Regions from separate parts of the Homo sapiens genome. Here all the other regions are linked to region 1. The links are contacts of gene promoters, found by promoter capture Hi-C in blood cells and fetal thymus (Javierre and others, 2016). All regions are on one chromosome and are shown on one strand. Each heading gives the region's core, a stretch centred on a gene start or on the middle of the fragment in contact. The rest is flanking DNA. Distances are from core to core; before and after follow the strand shown.

What was found. The method cuts DNA at HindIII sites, captures the fragments that hold promoters and counts their contacts. A CHiCAGO score of 5 or more calls a contact.
Region 2: a contact is called between a fragment that was not itself captured here and the fragment with the promoter of RESF1 in region 1, in 1 of 17 cell types (fetal thymus). The highest score is 5.7, in fetal thymus.
Region 3: a contact is called between a fragment that was not itself captured here and the fragment with the promoter of RESF1 in region 1, in 5 of 17 cell types (naive CD4 T cells, total CD8 T cells, erythroblasts and 2 more). The highest score is 9.9, in naive CD4 T cells.
Region 4: a fragment that was not itself captured here is called in contact with the fragment with the promoter of RESF1 in region 1 in 2 of 17 cell types (naive CD4 T cells and naive CD8 T cells); the score reaches 7.5 in naive CD4 T cells.
Region 5: a contact is called between a fragment that was not itself captured here and the fragment with the promoter of RESF1 in region 1, in 1 of 17 cell types (total B cells). The highest score is 5.7, in total B cells.

Annotation. Positions count from the first base shown.
Region 1 is chr12:31,957,084-31,961,050 of GRCh38, forward strand. It overlaps RESF1 (retroelement silencing factor 1), which reads left to right and starts at 2,332. Exons shown (of 6, transcript NM_018169.4): 1 at 2,332-2,408; 2 at 3,694-3,788. LOC105369725 (a long non-coding RNA gene) reads right to left here and starts at 2,221. Exons shown (of 2, transcript XR_931503.2): 1 at 2,045-2,221; 2 at 1,410-1,721. RefSeq lists enhancers at 1-453, 457-1,250 and a silencer at 2,303-2,642. The HindIII fragment of the contact is 2,403 bases long and covers 1,544-3,946 here.
Region 2 is chr12:32,251,111-32,255,061 of GRCh38, forward strand. All of the region lies in intron 2 of BICD1 (BICD cargo adaptor 1), which reads left to right. Among named protein-coding and RNA genes, the nearest start is that of BICD1-AS1, 150 kb to the left of the region's middle. RefSeq lists an enhancer at 1,333-1,672. The HindIII fragment of the contact is 959 bases long and covers 1,502-2,460 here.
Region 3 is chr12:32,286,699-32,291,225 of GRCh38, forward strand. The region is part of intron 2 of BICD1 (BICD cargo adaptor 1); the gene reads left to right. Among named protein-coding and RNA genes, the nearest start is that of FGD4, 110 kb to the right of the region's middle. The HindIII fragment of the contact is 1,183 bases long and covers 2,492-3,674 here.
Region 4 is chr12:32,272,305-32,276,673 of GRCh38, forward strand. The region is part of intron 2 of BICD1 (BICD cargo adaptor 1); the gene reads left to right. Among named protein-coding and RNA genes, the nearest start is that of FGD4, 130 kb to the right of the region's middle. The HindIII fragment of the contact is 4,145 bases long and covers 1-3,480 here.
Region 5 is chr12:32,328,723-32,332,939 of GRCh38, forward strand. The region is part of intron 5 of BICD1 (BICD cargo adaptor 1); the gene reads left to right. Among named protein-coding and RNA genes, the nearest start is that of FGD4, 69 kb to the right of the region's middle. The HindIII fragment of the contact is 4,608 bases long and covers 1-4,217 here.

The DNA of each region.
Region 1 (3,967 bases), core at 1,082-3,581:
CTGGGATTACAAGCATAAGCCACCACGCCTGATCCCCAATCTTTTTTTGTTTGTTTTGTTTCATGAGACAGACTCTTTCTGTGGCCCACGCTGGAGTGCAGTGGCGTGATCTCGGCTCACTGCAACCTCTGCTTCCTGGGTTTAAGCAATTCTCCCGCCTCAGCCTCCCGAGTAGCTGAGAATTACAGGTGCCCACAACCACGCCTGGCTAATTTTTATATTTTTAGTAGAAACAGGGTTTCACCATGTTGGTCACGTTGGTCTCAAACTCCTGATTTCAAGTGATTCACCCACCTCAGCCTCCCAAACTGTCAGGCCTCTGAGCCCAAGCTAAGCCATCATATCCCCTGTGACCTGCACGTATACATCCAGATGGCCTGAAGCAACTGAAGATCCACAAAAGAAGCGAAAATAGCCTTAACTGATGACATTCCACCATTGTGATTTGTTTCTGCCCCATCCTAACAGATCAATGTATTTTGTAATCTCCCCCACCCTTAAGAAGGTTCTTTGTAATTCTCCCCACCCTTAAGAAGGTTCTTTGTAATCTCCCCCACCCTTAAGAAGGTTCTTTGTAATTCTCCCCACCCTTGAGAATGTACTTTGTGAGATCCACCCCCTGCCCGCAAAACATTGTTCCGCGGAGCCTCTCCCAAAACCTATAAGAATTAAAGATAATCCCACCACCCTTTGCTGACTCTCTTTTCGGACTCAGCCCGCCTGCACCCAGGTGAAATAAACAGTCTTGTTGCTCACGCAAAGCTTGTTTGGTGGTCTCTTCACACGGATGCGCGTGACACAAAGTGCTGGGGTTACAGGCCTGAGCCACCACACCTGGCCACCCCCAATCTTTAAGAATATTCTGGCCGGGCGCGGTGGCTCATGCCTGTAATCCCAGCACTTTGGGAGGCTAAGGCGGGCGGATCAAGAGGTCAGGAGATCGAGACCATCCTGGCTAACATGGTGAAACCCCGTCTCTACTAAAATACAAAAAATTAGCCGGGCATGGTGGCGGGCGCCTGTAGTCCCAGCTACTTGGGAGGCTGAGGCAGCAGAATGGCGTGAACCTGGGAGGCGGAGCTTGCAGTGAGCCGAGATCGTGCCACTGCACTCCAGCCTGGGCGACAGAGCGTGACTCCGTCCCCCCCCCAAAAAAGAAAGAATATTCTGTATGTAGTTTTTTTGTTTTGTTTCTGACAGACGCAAACGCACTCTTCTAGTAATGACTAAAGACTTCTTCGTTTAATTCACCAATGAACTAATCTGACAATTTATGTAACAAATAAATTCCTATAAACATAAGCTCCCTTGCCCCTCTCCAGTGGCACAATCTCTGATTTGCCATCCTGGTTGCAACCTTCATTACTAAGTAAACGCTTACGTAAACCTTAATAATGAGATTCGGGCAATATGATTAAATATTGGTTTATTTGAGTGCAAAGTTTGAGGATGGCGACCCGGTAGGACACAGACTCCAAAAGATGGGGGTCAGTGCTTCGAAAGGGAGAAGTTTGAGGGTCGTTTACACAGGCAGGGTCTGGGAAGCTTAACAGGATGTCAACATTTTCCATAGAAGGTTAACGCATAGCAATTTGATTGGTTCAAGGCAGTGTTTCTTTTTGGGAAGGGTCTATTTAACATTCCACATTAAGGATGTAATAGTCAAGCGGTCATTTATCTTATTCAATGCGTATTTTATCTCAGATGCCATCTGGTCTGAGCTGGGAACAAGAAAATAAGGGAGTTAATCTATAACAAAAGGTCGGCAATTAAGAGGTCGTGCTTCGTGATCTGGTCTCCAAAGTCAACTTTCCTCAGGGACTTTCAGAATCCCCAAATAGACTATCCACTTTCTTTCACACTTATTTGCCTCTAACTTGTTGATTTCTTTTTTTTTTTTCTGTTTTTTAAGGGTTAACAATCTCTTGGGTGCACTCTGACTTCCATGCGCTTTATAGAAAAAATTGGTCCTGAGGCCAGCAGCAACAGTCGGTCTCAGGAACTTGTTAGAAATGCACATTTTTCAGCCCCACCCCAAACCTACTGAATCAGCAGTTTTGCTGGTGGTTCTCAATCTCTCTTTAACGTGCCCTCTGGGTGCTGCGGATGCACGCTGAAGGTAGAAGATCGCTGCAGGAGATTTCCGCGTCGGGCAGATGAAAGCGCTCTGCAAGCCCGGGTGTTATCTGCGGGCCGGGTCCGCGGCTTCTCTGGTGGCACTAGGACCGCGGCGGCGCGGCCCTCGCAGCCACCGCCTCGGGCGTGAGGCGGAGCGTAGCTGTTCCTGGATCCTGGGCCTGGCTCCTCGACCCGCCCCTGGAGGCGGACCCCACTTGACTTAAACTCTGGGGCCCGGGAGGCCGCCGGTTTTCTCCCCGCTTGCCGGGGTGGTCCTCTTCCCTTTGTCGGTAAGTGTGAGACGAGCACCCCGAGGTCCCTCCGCCTTCCGGGGTCCGGGCGGGGCGGGGGCCGGGAGCCGGGAGCCAGAGGCACTCGCGGTCCGGGCCTGCGCGCGGCGCAGAGCGCTTTTGTTCTGCGGCAAAGACGCAGTCGCGGGCGGCCCCGGAACCCGGGCCTCGGGCCCCGCCGGCTCGCGCGTCCCGCCGTCCGCCCACCGGAGCTGGGCCGGGCCGCCGCGCTTGCTTCTGCCCGCCGCACCGGGGCCGGCCCTGGGCCTCCGCGGATGCCGAGCCTTGCACCGGAGGGCGGGCCTCGCTGGCTGTTTTCCCTCATTGCCTGGCTCTGCGCGGTAGAGGTCGCGAGTGGCGAAGGCTAGGACGCATTTTGTCGAACTGCGAGGCGCGGCTGGTGAGGCGGGTGGGTATGAGAGCTGCTTATGTTTTTAAGGCTTTCCTGTCGCTGGAGTGAAAAAGAAAAATCTTTTTTTTTTTTTGCTATTTCCCGAGGGTTCTCCTCCTCCCCGGCCCTCTTAAGCCGAAGCCTCCTGGAACAGAATTGCTGTACTGGCATCTATCTCCAAGTGGTCCGCGAACGCTTCTGCGCCGGCGATGGTTTCTGTTCCTCAGCAATAGTTCCTTGAGGCATTTTTAAATGCACAAACGCATACCCATCTTAGGTGTTCTCGAGGGACACGGATTCCCTAAGCAAACGTCCTTAGGGTCCTGAGTTCAGCAGCAAACTTTCGGGGAATCATTTCCGTGAAAACAATTTATTTGTAGTACATCGAGTGCATACTGTCTTAACATAAGGATGTGTATGAGCTTGAGGCGCATTTTCATTTAGTGGCGGGCGGGTGCATTTCAGTAGGCGGGCCGCAGAGCTTGTTTGGGGATTGCATTTTTCTGCTAAATGTGTTAGCTTTAATCATGTTTCAGTCACTGTTAATGTGCATGCATGTTAAGGTTTTAGGTTTTTTCCCCTGTGCAGTCGGATTTTTTTCTGTTTAATATTAATCCAATAAAGACAAGTGCAGAGATAAAGTATTATTGTTTTGCAGTGATACTACAATAGCGGACCTAGAGGAGCGCACATAAATTCTAACTTAAGTGAATGGTATTTTCAGGCCAGACCTAGTTTCTATTTCTGTTACTTAGGACACTTAATAAGAATTCAGTAAACTTAGCATGCTTTCAGTGCAGCCATAAAAGAAAACAGTTTTGCACAGCAGTGTCATATCTAGTAAACACATTAGCATGTGCTCTTTTATTATAAAATGTTTCTTGCTGTCCCTAGGACCAAAGAAGTAAACACTGTGTGGAGAGGGACTGACGTGTTTGGAGGGAAATGGGAATGTACACGATAATTAAAGAGTAAAGTTGTGCTCAACGGTAAGTGTATCACCTCTAAGAAACCCGCCCTGATTTAACCAGGCGGTTATTCACACTCAACTATGGAGTAATTCACCTATTACCGAATAAAATTACTAGCTCAGTGAATCAACATCGGTTTTAAATTAAACTGTGGGTCACAATGGAATTGACAGCAAAGCTTGAGAAGAAATGTTGTT
Region 2 (3,951 bases), core at 731-3,230, 290 kb after region 1:
TTTCTGACTATAATAGAAAATTATCCTTAAAGTTTGCCATTACAAAGGGAATTGTACTTCTTTAAAATGCCAATTAAAAATATCTTCTTGTTGTTCTTATATATATTTTTAAGTTATATATGCATATGTTAAAATATTTAAGTGAAATAGGAATGACATAAAAATAAAATCTTCCTCCTCACTACCTCAACCTCCAGTCCCATGCTATAGAAGTAAATACTTAAATTAGTTTGCTGTAACAAATTACCACAAACTTTGTGGCTTAAAGCAACACGAATCCATCTCATAGTTGTGTAGCTCAGCATTCTGAAATGCGTCTCACTGGGTGAAAAATTAAGGCATCAGCAGGACTGGTTTCTTCCTGGAGGCTCTAGGGAAGAATCTTTTCCTTGCCCTTCTCACGTTCTAGACCCCACTATTAACACTCATATATTGTTTCAGAAATGTTTAATGCTCCTTGATTTTTATCACCTAATTGTATATTTTCTAGAACTCTCCATTCTTTTATATACAGCTACATACTGTTCTACTATATGGATGCACCAGATGTTATGTGTCCAGCTCCCTGTGTTAATGGAGTCTTGGTTTATTTTCAAGTTTTTATTTTCATAAATTGCATCATAAATAATATCTTTATACTTTCATATTTATGCATTTTGACAAACAGATCCATGGGATAAGTTGTTCTTGGTGTAGTTTCCAGGTAAAGCAGGATGTACATTTACACTTTTGATACTTCTTTTTAAATTGCCTTCTCAAAAGACATCTATTATCTTTCCCTCCAGTGATGAGTAAGAGTTCATATTTCCACACGGTTTTGGGGCGCTCGGGAGTTTGTTTTTTTTACAAAACTTTTAAAACTTTACCACTATATATATAATATATTTATAATATATATTTATAATAAATATCATATATTTATAATATATATTTATAATAAATATTATATATTATATATTTATAATATATATTTATAAATATATATTTATAATAAATATTATATATTATATATTTATAATAAATATTATATATTATATATTACATATTATATATTTATAATAAATATTATATAATATATACTATATATTTTATATATATTATATATCTTGTATATATTATATATATAACTTCTCTTTTTACTTCGTTTCACTTGAGTTATAAATTTGCCATGTTTGGAGGTTTTCGATGGTCCTAGCAAACCAGTTTCCCTAGAAGCAACTTCCCTTCAGTCCGATTCACATCAAAGATGTGACTTCAATACCATCTGATGTTCAAGCTATTTATTTTAGCAGTGGTCTTACAAGTCGGATAGTGGGAGCAGGTGGGTGGCATGGGCCAGATTCAATCAGAGGTCAGATGACTGCCTGTCCAGGAGGGTCTCCATCTGGAGACTATTCTCAGAGTTTGGGAGATTCTTCCCATTTCTTCTACCTGCATTTAGTTCAGTCAATTATCAGGCGTTTCTTTCATAAGAGGAGGTTAAGCTAGTCTTATAAGGGTAAGCTTTGTTAAAGGTTTACGAGATTTGCATCCGTGATGAGGTGGCCTTATGTCCTGGAAATCCCTGGGCCAGCTTGGAAATCCCCAGGCCAGGTGGCCTCACGCTGCTAAGTGGCACATAGTGTCAGTCCTGTGAGAGCTTGTTAATGCCTTATAGCTATCATTAATCTTGTAGTCATGATATGTCTCCTATAGGATGCTACACAGTTGGTTTTAGCATTTTACTATCGTTTTGTTGTTGATTACTTTTGTTTTCTTTCGTTTTTTGTTTCTGTTTTTGAGACAGGGTCTTACTCTGTCATCCCGGCTGGAGTGCAGTGGCATGATCATGGCTCATTGCAACCTCTGCCTCCCGGGTTCATATGGAAGGCAGAGGATTCTCCCACCTCAGCCTCCTGAGTAGCTGGGACTACAGGTGCACACCACCGCACCCAGGTAATTTTTGCATTTTTTGTAGAGACTGGGTTTTGCCATGTTGCCCAGGCTGGTCTTGAACTCCTGGGCTCAAGCAGTCGGCCCGCCTTGGCCTCCCAAAGTGTTGGGATTACAGGTGTGAGTCATCGTGCCCAGCCAGCATCTTACTATGTTTATTAGCCATTTGGATTCCTTTTTCTTTGAATTGCTGCTTGTTAATATATTGGCCCTTTTTTCTGTTACATTATTAATAATGCCAGGAATTATGCTAGTTGCTATGCAAGATGCAGACTTGAGGAAAACCTGGTCCCAGCTTTCAAAATGCTTACTTTCCAAATCTGACTCATCGTTTGACTTTAATGCCCCACTGGACTTCTCTAACAGCATTTTCCATTTTCCCTTTCAAAAGGACTCAAAATATACAAATTTAATTTGATGATAAGAGCTCAAGAAAGGCCGTGGATTCTTTTTTTTTTTATTTTTATAGTAAAAGTGATCAGACTGTTTCCTCTTTTAAGAAGAAAAAGAAAGCAGAGGTCAATATTAAGCTTCCAATTAATGCTTATTCATCACAAATAGTAAGTAAATAATGACAGAAATAATTCCTTAGTCACTCTCTAGCACACTTCTTTTTTATTTTTAACATTTTTCACTATGTGAGATTTCCTAGATTTGTTTTATTTTCTGTTTCCCTCTAACTGCAATACAAGCTCTTGTGGACTGGAACCACACCTGTCATATTCATGCTGTATCTCACCTGTCATATTCACTGCCAAATCCCACCTGCCATAATCACTGCCGTATCCCACCTGTCATAATCACTGCCGTATCCCACCTGCCATAATCACTGCCGTATCCCACCTGTCATAATCACTGCCATATCCCACCTGCCATAATCACTGCTGTATCCCACCTGTCATATTTACTGCTGTATCCCACCTGTCATAATCACTGCCGTATCCCACCTGCCACATTCATTGCGGTATCCCACCTGCCATAATCACTGCCCATATCCCACCTGCCGTATTCACTGCCGAATCCCACCTGCCATAATCACTGCCATATTCCACGTCATATTCACTGCCATATCCCACCTGCCATATTCACTGCCGTATCCCACCTGCCATAATCACTGCCCATATCCCACCTGCCGTATTCACTGCCGAATCCCACCTGCCATAATCACTGCCATATTCCACATGTCATATTCACTGCCATATCCCACTTGCCATATTCACTGCCGTATCCCACCTGCCATAATCACTGCCCATATTCCCACCTGCCATATTCACTGGCAGATCCCACCTGCCATAATCACTGCCGTATCCCACCTGTCATATTCACTGCCATACCCCACCTACCATATTCACTGCTGTATCCCAAGCTTCCAGAGTAGGCTCTAGCATTTGTAGGTGCTCAGTGAATATTTGCTGAATTAGCAAAATAGAAAATTTAAATCTCTTAACAGGTACCACGTTTTGACATAATCACTTGTAACATCTATTTAGAAATCCATAGGCAGCACAAGCACATAAATAAAAACCTGACCTTCCCCAAGATCTTTCCTCCTCTGTTCAGCATGCTGTGTCAAGAGCAGCACATTGTGTGGTCACTGTCTCATTCAATTGGGACAGTCGCATCATCTGCCCCTTGCTGAATCGAGCCTTTGAATTAGATGAAGGAAATTTGGGCCAAGTCTTCTGGAATTTAGTGACTACTATTATCTAGTTTCCCTCTGGTGCAATTAGAAATGAGCAATGAACCAATATATAACCTTGCTTAAAAAGCAATTTCCTTTACTATTCTCCTTGTTTAATTAGTCTGTTTTGTTCTCCCTGAGCTCGAGAGGCATTTTTTCTCCCAAAGCAGAAGCATTAAGTAAGATGCATTCAGTGTTTTCATGAGATTCATTCATTCTTCTTGGACAAGATCTTGGCCACTGTATTAGTCTGCTTGGGCTGCCATAACAAAATATCACAGACCAGGTGGCCCAAACAACAGAAATTGATTTCTCACAGTTCTGGAGTCTGAGAGGTC
Region 3 (4,527 bases), core at 1,833-4,332, 330 kb after region 1:
CACAGGAAGCTGTCATCCATGTAATATATATTTTTTGGGGGATTAATCACTTGTATACCTGTTTTATTATTCATTCCATGGTCATTAGGGCCTAAAATGTACCAGGTATTAGGGACACAGGATAACAAGGCAGCAAAGGATCATTATATTCAGATGCAAAAGGAAATGTAATAAATATAAAATGTATAAAAAGTAAGTAGCCAGTTTCAAATAATAATCAGTGTCATTCTGTCAACACTTATTTTCTAAGTATGTACTCCATGCTAAATACTAATCTATAAAGTAACTCTGATGGGTGAGTGGAGGGCGAGGGGAGCTATTTTATATTAGTTGCTCAGGGAAGGTTTCCCTGAGGAGATGACATCTGAAATGAGACTTAAATAACAAGTAAACACAGAAGAGTTTTTCAGCTGAGTTTCTGGGAGTCTGTGGATAGATTTCAGGAGGTCTATAGACTTGGATCAGAAAAATAATTACATCTGTATTTTCACTCAACTCAGACTGAAATTTAGCATTTTCTTCTATTTGAATGTAGACAACAAATCTCAGTAGTACTAGTAGCACTTGTTACTTTGTTACCAGTAGAAAGTATAGTTTTTTTAAATTATATCTCAGTTTTCACAGGTGTCTTGAAATGTTATCATTGCTTTGAAATTATGAGATTTCTTGGATGTGATACTAGATCTGATTCTAATTGTGTTAATAAAGAAGCACATGTATTACTGTATTGATTATGTATTACTGGGTAATGAATGACCCACAATTTGGGAGCTTTAAACAATAACCCATGATTCTGTTGGTCAGCAATTTGGGCTGTGCTCAGCTGGGTGGTGTTTTTTTTTTTGTTTTTTTTTTTGAGATGGAGTCTGTCTCTGTCGCCCAGGCTGGAGTGCAGTGGCACGATCTTGGCTCACTGCAAGCTCTGCCTCCTGGGTTCACGCCATTCTCCTGCCTCAGCCTCCCAAGTAGCTGGGACTACAGGTGCCCGCCACCACACCTGGTTACTTTTTTATATTTTTTAGTAGAAACGAGGTTTCACCGTGTTAGCCAGGATGATCTCGATCTCTTGACCTTGTGATCCGCCCGCCTCGGCCTCCCAAAGTGCTGGGATTGCAGGCATGAGCCACTGTGCCCGGCCTCGGCTGGGTGGTTCTTAAGGACTTGCCAGGATTGCTCATGTGGTTGCAGTCATCTGACAGCCCCACTGGGCCAAATAGTCCAAGATGGCCTTCCTCCCATGCCCAGCAGCTGGTGCTGACTGCAGGCTGGGCCACATGGCTCCAACAGGCTACCCTGGGGCTCTTCACATAGTCACAGTGTTACAAGACAGCAAGAGCATGAGCCACAAAGCCCCGTGAGGCTCAGGCTCAGAACTCCCCAGCACTTCCACTGTCTTCTGTGGGTCATAACAAATCCAAAGGCCAGCTCAGTCAGTTTGAGAGGGAATTCCATGGGTTGTGACTTCAGGGAAGTGTGATTAATTGGGGGCCATTAATATACTTACCTGTCACCTACCAAGTCCTAATTTTTTTTTTTTTTTTTTTTTTTTCTGAGACAGGGTCTCACTCTGTAGCCCAGGCTGGAGTGTAGTGGCATGATCATGGCTCACTGCAGGCTTGACCTTTGGGGCTCAAGCAATCCTCCCACTTCAGCCCCCTGACTAGCTGGGACTAAAAGTGTGCACCACCATACCTGGCTAATTTTGGCATGTTCTTTTTTTGTACAAAATAATCTTCTGGATGGGGCTCACCATGTTGCCCAGGCTGGTCTCAAACTCCTGGACTCAAGTGATCCTCCCATCTCAGCCTCCCAAGGTGTGGGGTTTACAGGCATGAACCACTGTGCCCAGCCTATGTCATAATTTTAAAAATTATTATAATAAGTTGGCCGGGCTTGGTGACTCACACTTGTAATCCCAGCACTTTGGGAGGCCAACGCAGGTGGATCACTTGAGGTCAGAAGTTCAAGACCAGCCTGGCCAACACAACGAAATCCTGTCTCTAGTAAAAATACAAAAATTAGCCAGGTGTGGTAGCAGGCACCTGTAATCCCAGCTACTTGGGAGACTGAGGCACAAGAATCACTTGAACCTGGGAGGCGGAGGTTGCAGTGAGCCAAGATCATGCCACTGTACTCCAGCCTGGGTGACAGAGCAAGACTCTTTCAAAAAAAAAAAAAATTATAGTAATTTTAACATGTTCGGTGTTTTCTGTAATTTTGTCTTTTACACTTTTTAAAATATTATTCTGAGAAGAGGTACATAGGCTTCAGCACATTGTCAAAGAGGGTCAAGCACATTATGAGATTAGGAGCCCTTGATCTAAAGGCAGGGAGTTCTGGAAAGAGGAGTATAGAAGCCTCAAGGCAGAAGCAAGCTGGCATGTCCAATGGGATAGAGGAGCAGAAGGAAAGCTCCTGCGGCCAGAGCCAAAGATTGAGGGGCAGAGTGGTTGGAGACAGAGGTAGGGCCAGATCATGTGACTTCTTTGAAAGCTTCTGAAACTTGCAAAGGGACCTCCACTTCCCCACTGCACCATACCCACAGAGTGTGAAAGTAGGTATTGTATGTAAATTGTATTTTATGATTTTTTGGGGTCATTGCTAACTTTTTTCAGTTATCTTGGCAGAAATAAGAAAATTCTTTTTTGCTATTCCATATATCTATTGTGATATCAGAGTCTGTTGTTTGTTTGTGTGTTTGTTTGTTTAAGACAGTCTTGCTCTGTTGCCAGGCTGAAGTGCAGTGGTGCGATCTCAGCTCACTGCAACTTCTGCTTCCCAGGTTCAAGTGATTCTCCTGCTTCAGCCTCCCAAGTAGCTAGGACTACAGGCGCGTGCCACCACACCCAGCTAATTTTTGTATTCTTAGTAGAGACAGGGTTTCACCATGTTGGCCAGGATGGTTTGATCTCTCGAACTTGTGATCCGCCCACCTTGGCCTCCCAAAGTGCTGGGATTACAGGCGTAAGCCACCGCACCCAGCCCCAGAGTCTGTTGTTTATAGAGGATGATTGGGCGTAGCTTTCTAGAGCTGGGAAAACCACCTTTAAACAGTATTATATACCAATATTTACTATTTCATAAATTCAGGCATATTTGCTTAAAATAATCTCCTGTAGAGAGGCAAGAAACAGAAGCCCATTTTTTTGTTTTTAGGAAATTCATAGAAGCCTTTGGTAAGGTTCTTTTAAGTTGGCAAACTCTATTTTCAGAAGACTTCTATGTTGACACTTGTGACCTACAGAATTGCTTTAAGAGGTCAGCACTGATAAAAACAGAGGGAAGCTGTAAAGGGAGGATTAGGCTAAAGTCAACTGGTGGAGTAGGCATAGGTGAATTACTAAAGTGTTGATGAAATGACTCTGTTGGAGTTACCAGTTTATTATAATGAGAGCTAAAGTGAAAAACGCCAGACAGCCTAGAAGCATTCTGAATAACAAGGAGCTCCAACCCCTTATATATAAATGAGGTTACATATAGTAGGTTGAAAGCAGGTTTCCAAAACAACCAATTAGTTTGTATAGCTTCAGCTTCAGGATTGATGATTACATTCCATAGGATATTACATTAAATTGATGAAATCTGCACGTCTCTGGGGAACTCCTTACAAGCTAGCCAGTGAGCTTTTATGATGATAAGATACAGAATGGATAAAAATCTTCTGATGCCAAAAAAGCTTTGGCCCTGCCCAAGTTAGGATCTATATTCATATTATCACCAGGTAAAGTGTCTTGCAAACTTTCTTAGCTTTCATTCCTATCAGACTGCAGTTCATGACTGTGAGGTGTCAAAGACTCTCTCCTTAACCAAGCTTCAGTCATGCTCTGCTAATGTCTCTTTTGGACCAGGCTTCAAGCTTGCTCCACCCCCAGCTTTGGCTTGCCCAGCCCAGCCTTAGCAAGGAATTCTGCTAAGTCATCTCCCAACCCTAGATATCTAATTACCCTTGATATCTGATCAAGTTCTTCATCCTCCACCTTTTTGATGTCTAAGTCCTTGGACTGCCTTTAGCAAGAGTCCTGTTAGGCCAGCTTAGCAAGAATTCCCCTGCCCTTGATGTGTTCTTTTAGCAATTTCCCATCCTTTGACATCCTCATGCTGTTCTTGGCTATAAATCTTCACTTGCTCTTGCTGTTTCAGAGTTGAGCCCCTTCTTTTCCCCCCTCCAATTGCAATGGTTTTGAATGAAGTCTTCCTTACCATTTTAACAAGTGTCAGAATAATTTTTTTAACATCTGTCTTTACACCACAGTCAACAACCCCTTATCCTCCCCAAAACTCTGAGCTAACGCCACTACTTAGAGATTACAGTGTCTGCCTATTTTATTAGCTGGAACTGCATCAGTGATTTTGGAGTTGAATTTTTCATTTTTTACATGAAAGATTATGTGTTTATAATTTGTTGTTTTCACATATGCATAAACAGAACTAGGAAGAGCTGTACTCAGGAGTCAAGTCAGAAGAAAAAACATCACCATGTTCAAATAGACAACTGAACATGCCTCTGAAAACCAGAGACAAAGGGAG
Region 4 (4,369 bases), core at 158-2,657, 310 kb after region 1:
TCACCACACCAACTCAAAATTACAAAGTTTTCCAGAGCTTATAAACCTTCCAAGCTGTATGTCTACATATAAGTGTGCATTCATCTAAAGACATAAGTGATTAACTTCTTTTAATCTATAACTAAGATCTGAGTCCTGAAGACCTTTCTCTGGAGCCTCAGTAAATTTACTTAATCTAAATGGGTCCAGGTGCTAGGGTGATTACCCTTATCTTGTCTCCTGCTAAATCACAGAGGTTTGGGGAGTTCCTTCAGACCTCCAATAAACTTGTGTGTGGAGGCCTGGGGAATTTCTTCAGACTGACAATAAAACTTGTTTATTCCAGTCTGGCCAACATGGTGAAACCCTGTCTCTACTAAAAATACCAAAAAGTTAGCTGGGCGTGGTGACGTGCACCTGTAATCTCAGCTACTAGTGAGACCTGGCCTGCCACAATGTGGTTAAGGAAACATATTAAAACATTTTTAAAAATCAAGATTTTCCATTTCAATGGCCTTGTAATTGATTGAAAAGTTTATTTTGAGTCACATGGTGTTCTAGACTCTTGTGGAGGGTTTAGATTGGAAAATAAGTAATGACAGTGAAGCAGTTGTTATGTTCGTATAAAAGAAAGAAAAGAAAAACCCACAGGACTTTATTTGGTTTTAAAAGTCTATCTGCAAAGATATAGTTTATAGGAAAATTCAATTCCAAATGTTTCTCATTGCTCTGGAGTGTGTGAAGAAGAGGCCTAAGAATATTCTTAGGAAGGCAAAAACTTTCAGATGCAGTTCATATGCTTGACACCTCTGTTTCACTTTTGGCTGACTTGTGTAGTCTGATTTTTGGTCACTGACAGGCTCAGCATCATGAGTGTGCAAGACGTAAGGGAGGCAGGACCTTGTCTTTTCAATGGTGTCTTCCTGGGTGGCTGCCAGAATTCATCATTATTGCACTCTACTCTCATAGCCTCGATTTCTGTTTTTGTTTGCTTTTACTGAAATTGGAGTAGTGACACAGAGTCAGATCATTGAAAAGACTCACAAGATTCCAAAGGGTATACTGGTAGAGTATAAACTGGAGGATAAGGTACAGCGGGAGAAAGCAAGTACCAGCAGACACAGAGGGGGCTGAGACTCCTGCAAGCAGCGCCTTTCCTCAGGCTCACTGGATGTGCTCTGTGTTTGGGTGTGAACCACCAAGATGCATGCATGATATCTGTTTTCAGGGAAGCCAAGATACAAGTGTACAGAAAAGCCATTATACCCCCGTCACATTGCTGAAACTGGATGATTAAACCACGTACCAAGCGGTGTCTAAATTTCAGTAATAATGATCAGCTAGTAGAGGGTGCCTCAAGGCAGTTTCAGACTTTAAATAACATAGTAGAAATCACTAGCTAGTCCATTTCATCCTTATCATTGTTGCAGAACTTTCTCCTTAGTTCAGCTAAAACCGGGTTCTTGTCACACAACCGGAAAAGATTAGGCTCAGGGACACATAGAAGGGTGAGGGGCAGAATTTATTGGGTGAAAAGGAAAAAGGAAAAAGAACTCTCAGCAAAGCGAGAGGGAGTCTTGCCAACAGGCCCTCCACCTCACAGACTGAACACCAGGCCACCACACAGGAACTGAAGAGGCCAGGCTCCTCCCCGCTGAACAAGCGTAAACTTCTCTTGGCTCCACCCTCTTCCCCCAGTGTGCAGGTGGGCATTATTCAGAGAGAATCAGCTGAGAAAGGGCAGGCTTTATCCGGGACCAGCAGTCCAGTTCTTCAGCCTTCAGGCTCTTTTAGGCTTGAAGGCAGGGTTTCGTGGGGGACCTTGGTAAGAAGAGTTCTTTTCGACACTTTAATGTAGATTGTAAGAGGTAGAAAAAAATTGATCACATTTAACATATAGTTACTTAAAAACACATCTTTGAGTTTTCTAGACTTCTAATATGATTGTAGAAAATCAGCGTGGCAGCCAACTTAAGACAGATCAATACCTCGAAGTCTGTAACTTTAATAAGAACATCAGAACTGAAATTCTATATTAGTTACCCTATTGTACTCACAGTCATGGAATACAGAACAGGAAAGATTCTGGAAACACATTTTGATAGTCAGGGTCACAGATATTGCTCTGTTTCAGTAACCAGGTTTTCTACTTATGAAAGTTATTTAAAAGGCAATGAATATTCAAAATGTGAGCAGCTATTGCTACCATTAGCTCCAGAATCAGTTCTGAAGAATTTGTAGGAAGTCATCTTGAAAATAATAAAGCAATATATTTTTCAGAAATAGTATCCACTAAATCATAATCTGAGGCCACTTTACTGAGGCGTTTATATTTATATTTATATTAATTTGTTATTTTACACAGAAAGGGAAACTATGACCTAAAGACAGAGATAACAATAATCTGATTAGCATTAGCCACCCCATTCCAACAACAAATCACGTTAATAAGGCATTTTTAGAAGTAGCAAAGCATAGTGGTTAAGAACATATGTTCTAGAACTAGACAGTCTGAGTTTGACTCCTGATACCACTTATTTTATTCTAAAACTTTTGGCAAATTATTACATAACCTCCCTTGCCTCAGTTGGCCAAGCTGTAAAATGGGACTAATAATGGTGTCCAACTCACAGGATTGCTATGTAGGCTAAAAGGTTAAAAGAGTTTTATATTTCTAAAACAATGTGCTTGTAATAGTCTTGGCACATTGTAAACATTGTGTAAGTGCTTATTAAAAATAAATTCATGCTTGTAATTGAAGATCGCCATATGAGATACACATTCTAGTGATCTATATGTTTATCATTAGATATATGATATATACACACACTCATATTTCAGTCCCCTGAGGGATTAACTTTTAATCCCTTGATTTGCAAATCAAGTTGTAAATTACACGTATAAATAAAATACCTTTGTAGTGATTCGTTCATTATAAAATTATGCTAACTATGTTGGTTTTCATGTAGGCATAAGCTGGCTCTATAAATAAAGTTTGAAAATAAGTAAGGTATAAAGGAACCCTGGCGGGATAGATAAGATACTAGGAACAGTGGTTTGGGAGTGAGGATGGGAAGTAGACTGATGTGGAACAAGATGGGAGTGAGACTTTTTTTAGTCACCGTCTATATTTTTATAATTTCTGGGTCTGGAATCAGTATCTCCTCATCCTAACTTGTTCATATGATGAGTTAGAGTCATATCTGCCTGCTGTTAGTTTTTTCAAAGAATCTTCAAATGGGGCAACCCCCTTTGGGTCCCCTCCCTTTGTATGGGAGCTCTGTTTTCACTCTATTAAATCTTGCTACTGCACTCTTCTGGTCCATGTTTGTTACGGCTGGAGCTGAGCTTTCGCTTGCCGTCCACCACTGCTGTTTGCCACTGTCGCAGACCCGCCGCTGATTCCCATCGCCGCTGACTCCCATCCCTCCAGATCCGGCAGGGTGTCCGCTGTGCTCCTGATCCAGCGAGACTCCCATTGCCACTCCCGATTGTGCTAAAAGCTTGCCATTGTTCCTGCACGGCTAAGTGCCTGGGTTCGTCCTAATCGAGCTGAACACTAGTCACTGGGTTCCACGGTTCTCTTCCATGACCCACAGCTTCTAATAGCTCATCGCATGGCCCAAGATTCCATTCCTTGGAATCCGTGAGGCCAAGAACCCCAGGTCAGAGAACACGAGGCTTGCCACCATCTTGGAAGCCGCCCACCACCATCTTGGAAGCGGCTTGCCACCATTTTGGGAGCTCTGTGAGCAAGGATCCCCGGTAACATTTTGGCGACCATGAAGGGACCTCCGAAGCGTTTGTCTCTTCCAGAATTGAAACTGTAAAACTACAAATGGTTCTTCAAATGGAGCCCCAGATGCAGTCCATGACTAAGATCCACCGCAGACCCCTGGACCGGCCTGCTAGCCCATGCTCCAATGTTAATGACATGGAAGGCACCCTTCCGGAGGAAATCTCAACTACACAACACCTACTATGCCCCAATTCAGCAGGAAGCTGTTAGAGCAGTCATTGGCCAACCTCCCCAACAGCACTTGGGTTTTCCTGTTGAGAGAGGGGACTGAGAGACAGGACTAGCTGGATTTCCTAGGCCGACTAAGAATCCCTAAGCCTAGCTGGGAAGGTGACCGCATCCACCTTTAAACACGGGGCTTGCAACTTAGCTCACACCCAACCAGAGAGTTCACTAAAATGCTAATTAGGCAAAAATAGGAGGTACAGAAATAGCCAATCATCTATTGCCTGAGAGCACAGCGGGAGGGACAAGGATCAGGATATAAACCCAGGCATTCGAGCTGGCAACGGCAACCCCCTTTGGGTCCCCTCCCTTTGTATGGGAGCTCTGTTTTCACTGTTTCACTCTATTAAATCTTGCAACTGCAAA
Region 5 (4,217 bases), core at 924-3,423, 370 kb after region 1:
TTTTAAATGATGAAATACCTGTGCCCAGTTAGGTGGAGGCAGAGGTGAGGAACTTAAAGCAGGAACACAGGAGAAGATCTAGATGCCTTTCTGCAGATGTAGAAAGGCAGCTCAGGCGGTGCTGGGCTGAAGCCTGGCAGTGAGTGGCTGTGGAAACAGGAGATGGAGGGTGGCAGAATAGGCTGGCAAGGCAGGTTACACCAACCAGGGCGATACAGCAAGAAAGACAAACACCCAGCAGGCAGCTAGAGCAAACAGAGGGAAATCTGGGTACATATGGTGAAGAAGGTCTGATGGCCAATAACTGGACCCCAGCTTTGGAGCTGGAGGTTCAGATTCAAGACTCAATTTCTAGGAGTATAGCAAAATTATTATTATTATTATTTTTTATTTTTGTTTTGAGACAGAGTCTCGCTCTGTTGTCCAGGCTGGAGTGCACTGGCGCCATCTCTGCTCACTGCAACCTCCGCCTCCTGGGTTCAAGCGATTCTCATGCCTCAGCCTCCGAAGCAGCTGAGATTACAGGCATGTGCCACCATGCCTGGCTAACTTTTTGTGGAGACAGAATTTCACCATATTGTCTAGGCTGGTCTCGAACTCCTGACCTCAAGTGATCCGCCCACCTCGGCCTCCCAAAGTGCTGGGATTACAGGCATGAACCACCGCGCCCAGCCAAGTATAGCAAGATTAAAAGGAGTGTTTTGTCCTTCATCCCAAACTTAGAGAAACAAGAGCGCTAAATAAATGAATAAGTCAGGGATGAAAGGCAAGACAACTGTGAGGACCTGAGTGAGTAACAGAAACAAAGCCAGACAGATTGTTACCAACAAATTAAATAGTTTGGGGCCACTTTAGCAAGGAAATAATAGAGAGTGTGTGTGAGAGAGTATAAGAATGAGCTCTACCTGTGCTACTGACCACGTATCTGAAATTTAGGTTCATTTGGGATGTTAACCCACCTGGGTCAGAGGTTAAGTAATAGGGAGCTTTTCCTAGCTATTGATCTTGTCCTTCTGGACAAGTAGTAATGTTACAACATGAACCTGTCTAATTCCCAGCCCTCCTTAATGACTGAAATTGTTTTCACCCTGAGTTTTACCTTGGTGGGAGTGCTGCGAAATATAGGCAGGAAAATTATTTTCACCTTTATTTAGTTTATCTGAAAAGATATTCTTGAAAGACACATATTTGAGAAAGGTGCTGAATAAATGTTGGTGTTGATAAAGAGAAGCAACAAAGCACCAAATACCCTCCTGCAAACGCAAGCAGTGCCAGTGAATAGTAGGTCAAGGGAGCTCTTGGTCTTTGGAGAATGAGGATTAATTTCAGATTCAGAGTGTCTTCTCCATTTGCCATCATCTGGGGAAAACCACGCCCTTATTATCTCATCTACAGTGCAGCTTTCAAGTCCTCATCTCTAGTTCCCATAAATCTATTTATATAATTGACATCTATACCATAAGCCATAATATTGTTTGCACTATTAACATGTTTTATATAAACCTAAGGGCAAAATATGACTTTATTTTATGTTGTCACTTTAGAGAAATAGAAAAGATTAGAGTGAATGAAACCATCATTCTCAGCAAACTATCGCAAGGACAAAAAACCGAACACCACAAGTTCTCGCTCATAGGTGGGAATCGAACAATGAGAACACATGGACACAGGAAGGGGAACATCACACACCGGGGCCTGTTGTGGGGTGGGGGGAGGGGAGAGGGATAGCATTAGGAGATTTACCTAATGTAAATGACGAGTTAATGGGTGCAGCACACCAACATGGCACATGTATACATATGTAACAAACCTGTACGTTGTGCACATGTACCCTAGAACTTAAAGTAAATTAAAATATATATATATAAAATAAATAAAATAAAAAAAGAAAAGATTAGAGTGAATGAAGAATTTGTGAGAGATCTGACTCTAATTTTAGGTCGGAATAAAGGAATTTATTATTGTAACTCTGCTATAATTTAAAGACCCAATGATTCAGAGTGGTCATAAATAACCAATACCATATTAGATAAGGCTTACACAAGGACATGCTATCCTGGGGCATTCTTGATCAAGCCATCCAGATAACTTCTCTGACTTCTTCCTAAAGGTTGAATATTAACAATTTAGGTCTGGGCGCAATGGCTCACGCCTGTAATGCCAGCACTTTGGGAGGCCAAGGCCAGTGGATCACTTGAGGTCAGGAGTTTGAGACCAGCCTGACCAACATGGAGAAACACCGTCCCTACTAAAAATACAAAATTAACCAGGCGTGGTGGCGGGTGCCTGTAATCCCAGCTACTCGGGAGGCTGAGGCAGGAGAATCACTTGAACCCCGGGGGGCGGAGGTTGCGGTGAGCCTAGATTGCATGATTGCACTCCAGCCTGGGCAACAAGAGCGAAAATCTGTCTTAAAAAAAAAAAAATCAAGATGCTTAACTGAAACAGAGGTATAGATAAGGACACTTGGCCAACCAACAGAGACTAATTTGTGAACAAGCATTCATTGATTACATATTTTCTGGGAGGCAGTAAGTAGGGATGCAAAAATAAATGACATAATCTAGTAGGAATTCCGCAATTGCCTGTAGCTGTTTACAAGACAGGACTTATCAAGCACTTTAGAGTGATGTAAACAGTACCACAGGAAATCAGAACAGAACAAAGCATTCCTAGCTGAAGTTTTATTTTCACTGTGCTTTGTGGTACAGGTTGAGTATCCCTTTTCCGAAATGTTTTGGGGGACAAGAAATGTTTCAGATTTTGGATTTTGGACATTTGCATATATACATAATGAGTTATCTTGGGGATGGGATCCAGGTCCAAACATGAAATTTACTTATGTTTCATGTATTCCTATATACATAGCCTGAAGGTAATTTTATACAATTTTTTTAATGATTCCGTGGCTGAAACAAAGTTTTGACTGCCACTCATGACATGAGGTCAGGTGTAGAATTTTGTGGCTCATGTCAGCACTCAAAAGGTTTCAGATTTTGAAGCATTTTGGATTTTGGATTAAGGATGCTCAACCTGTACCATTTGCATTACATTAGAGTTACAGTCTATATGGGCTCAGTAAATTAAATGAAAACACATTTCTAGCAATGCATTTGGTCTGCACGTTCATGATGTTGGGGCTGTTGCTGTGATGCTTATTGCCGTAAATAGCTTCAAGTATTAACAGATGACATTCACTATATTTATTTAGACATTGTGAAATGTTTGTTTTTAAGGTTAAGGTGAGAATTCTGGGGTACAGGGGAAAAAAGGAAATCTCCCTGTTTTAAAATAGGCATTCTACTATACAGCCATAAGAAAGAAAAGAATGAGATCATGTCATTTACAGGGACATGGTTGGAGCTGGAGACCATTATCCTTAGCAAACTAACACAGGAACAGAAAACCAGATACCGCATGTTCTCACTTATAAGTGGGAGCTAAATGATGAGAGCAAATAGACACATAGAGGGGAACAACACACACTGGTTCCTGTTGGAGGCTGAAGGATGAGAGGAAGGAGATGATCAGGAAAAATAACAAATGGATACTAGGCTTACATACCTGGTGAAGAAATAATTGGTACAACAAACCCCCATGACACACATTTACCTATGTAACAAACCTGCACATCCTGCAGCTGTACCCCTGAACTTAAAAGTTAAAAATAAATAAATAGGCATTCTGTAGTCTCTATGAATCTTCTCATTTACTTAAGGATTTTTTCATAGGCACAGTGCCTTCTGATGAAGTCAGTAAATGCTTATGAAGCACCGTCCATCTAGCACTGTGCTAGATGCTGAAGATTCAAAGAAGACTAACACATGGTCCCTGCCTTCCAGAAGACTCAGCCTCCTGGGGATGTCAGGATAGAAACACAATTACAGTTCAACGTTACACATGCTGTAATCCAAGTTATGAGAACAATGCAGAGGAAGCAACTAAGGTTTCCTAGAGGAGCGGAAAAGACTTCACAGAAGCAATTATACCTTAGTTTGTTATTAAAGGATAAGAAGTTGTTTTCCAGAGGAGGAGGAAGTAATTCCAGACAGAACAGTAGGTAGAGAGGCTTTGGAGTGACAAAATAGAATAATATATTCAGGGAATGCTCACAAAGGCCTATGTGGCTGGAAATAAGACTTTTTTTATTTAGAAAGTCAACTTTGGAATGTGTGGAGAAAGTGGTGAAAGCAGAAATCAGCAAATCCAGTGAGTTA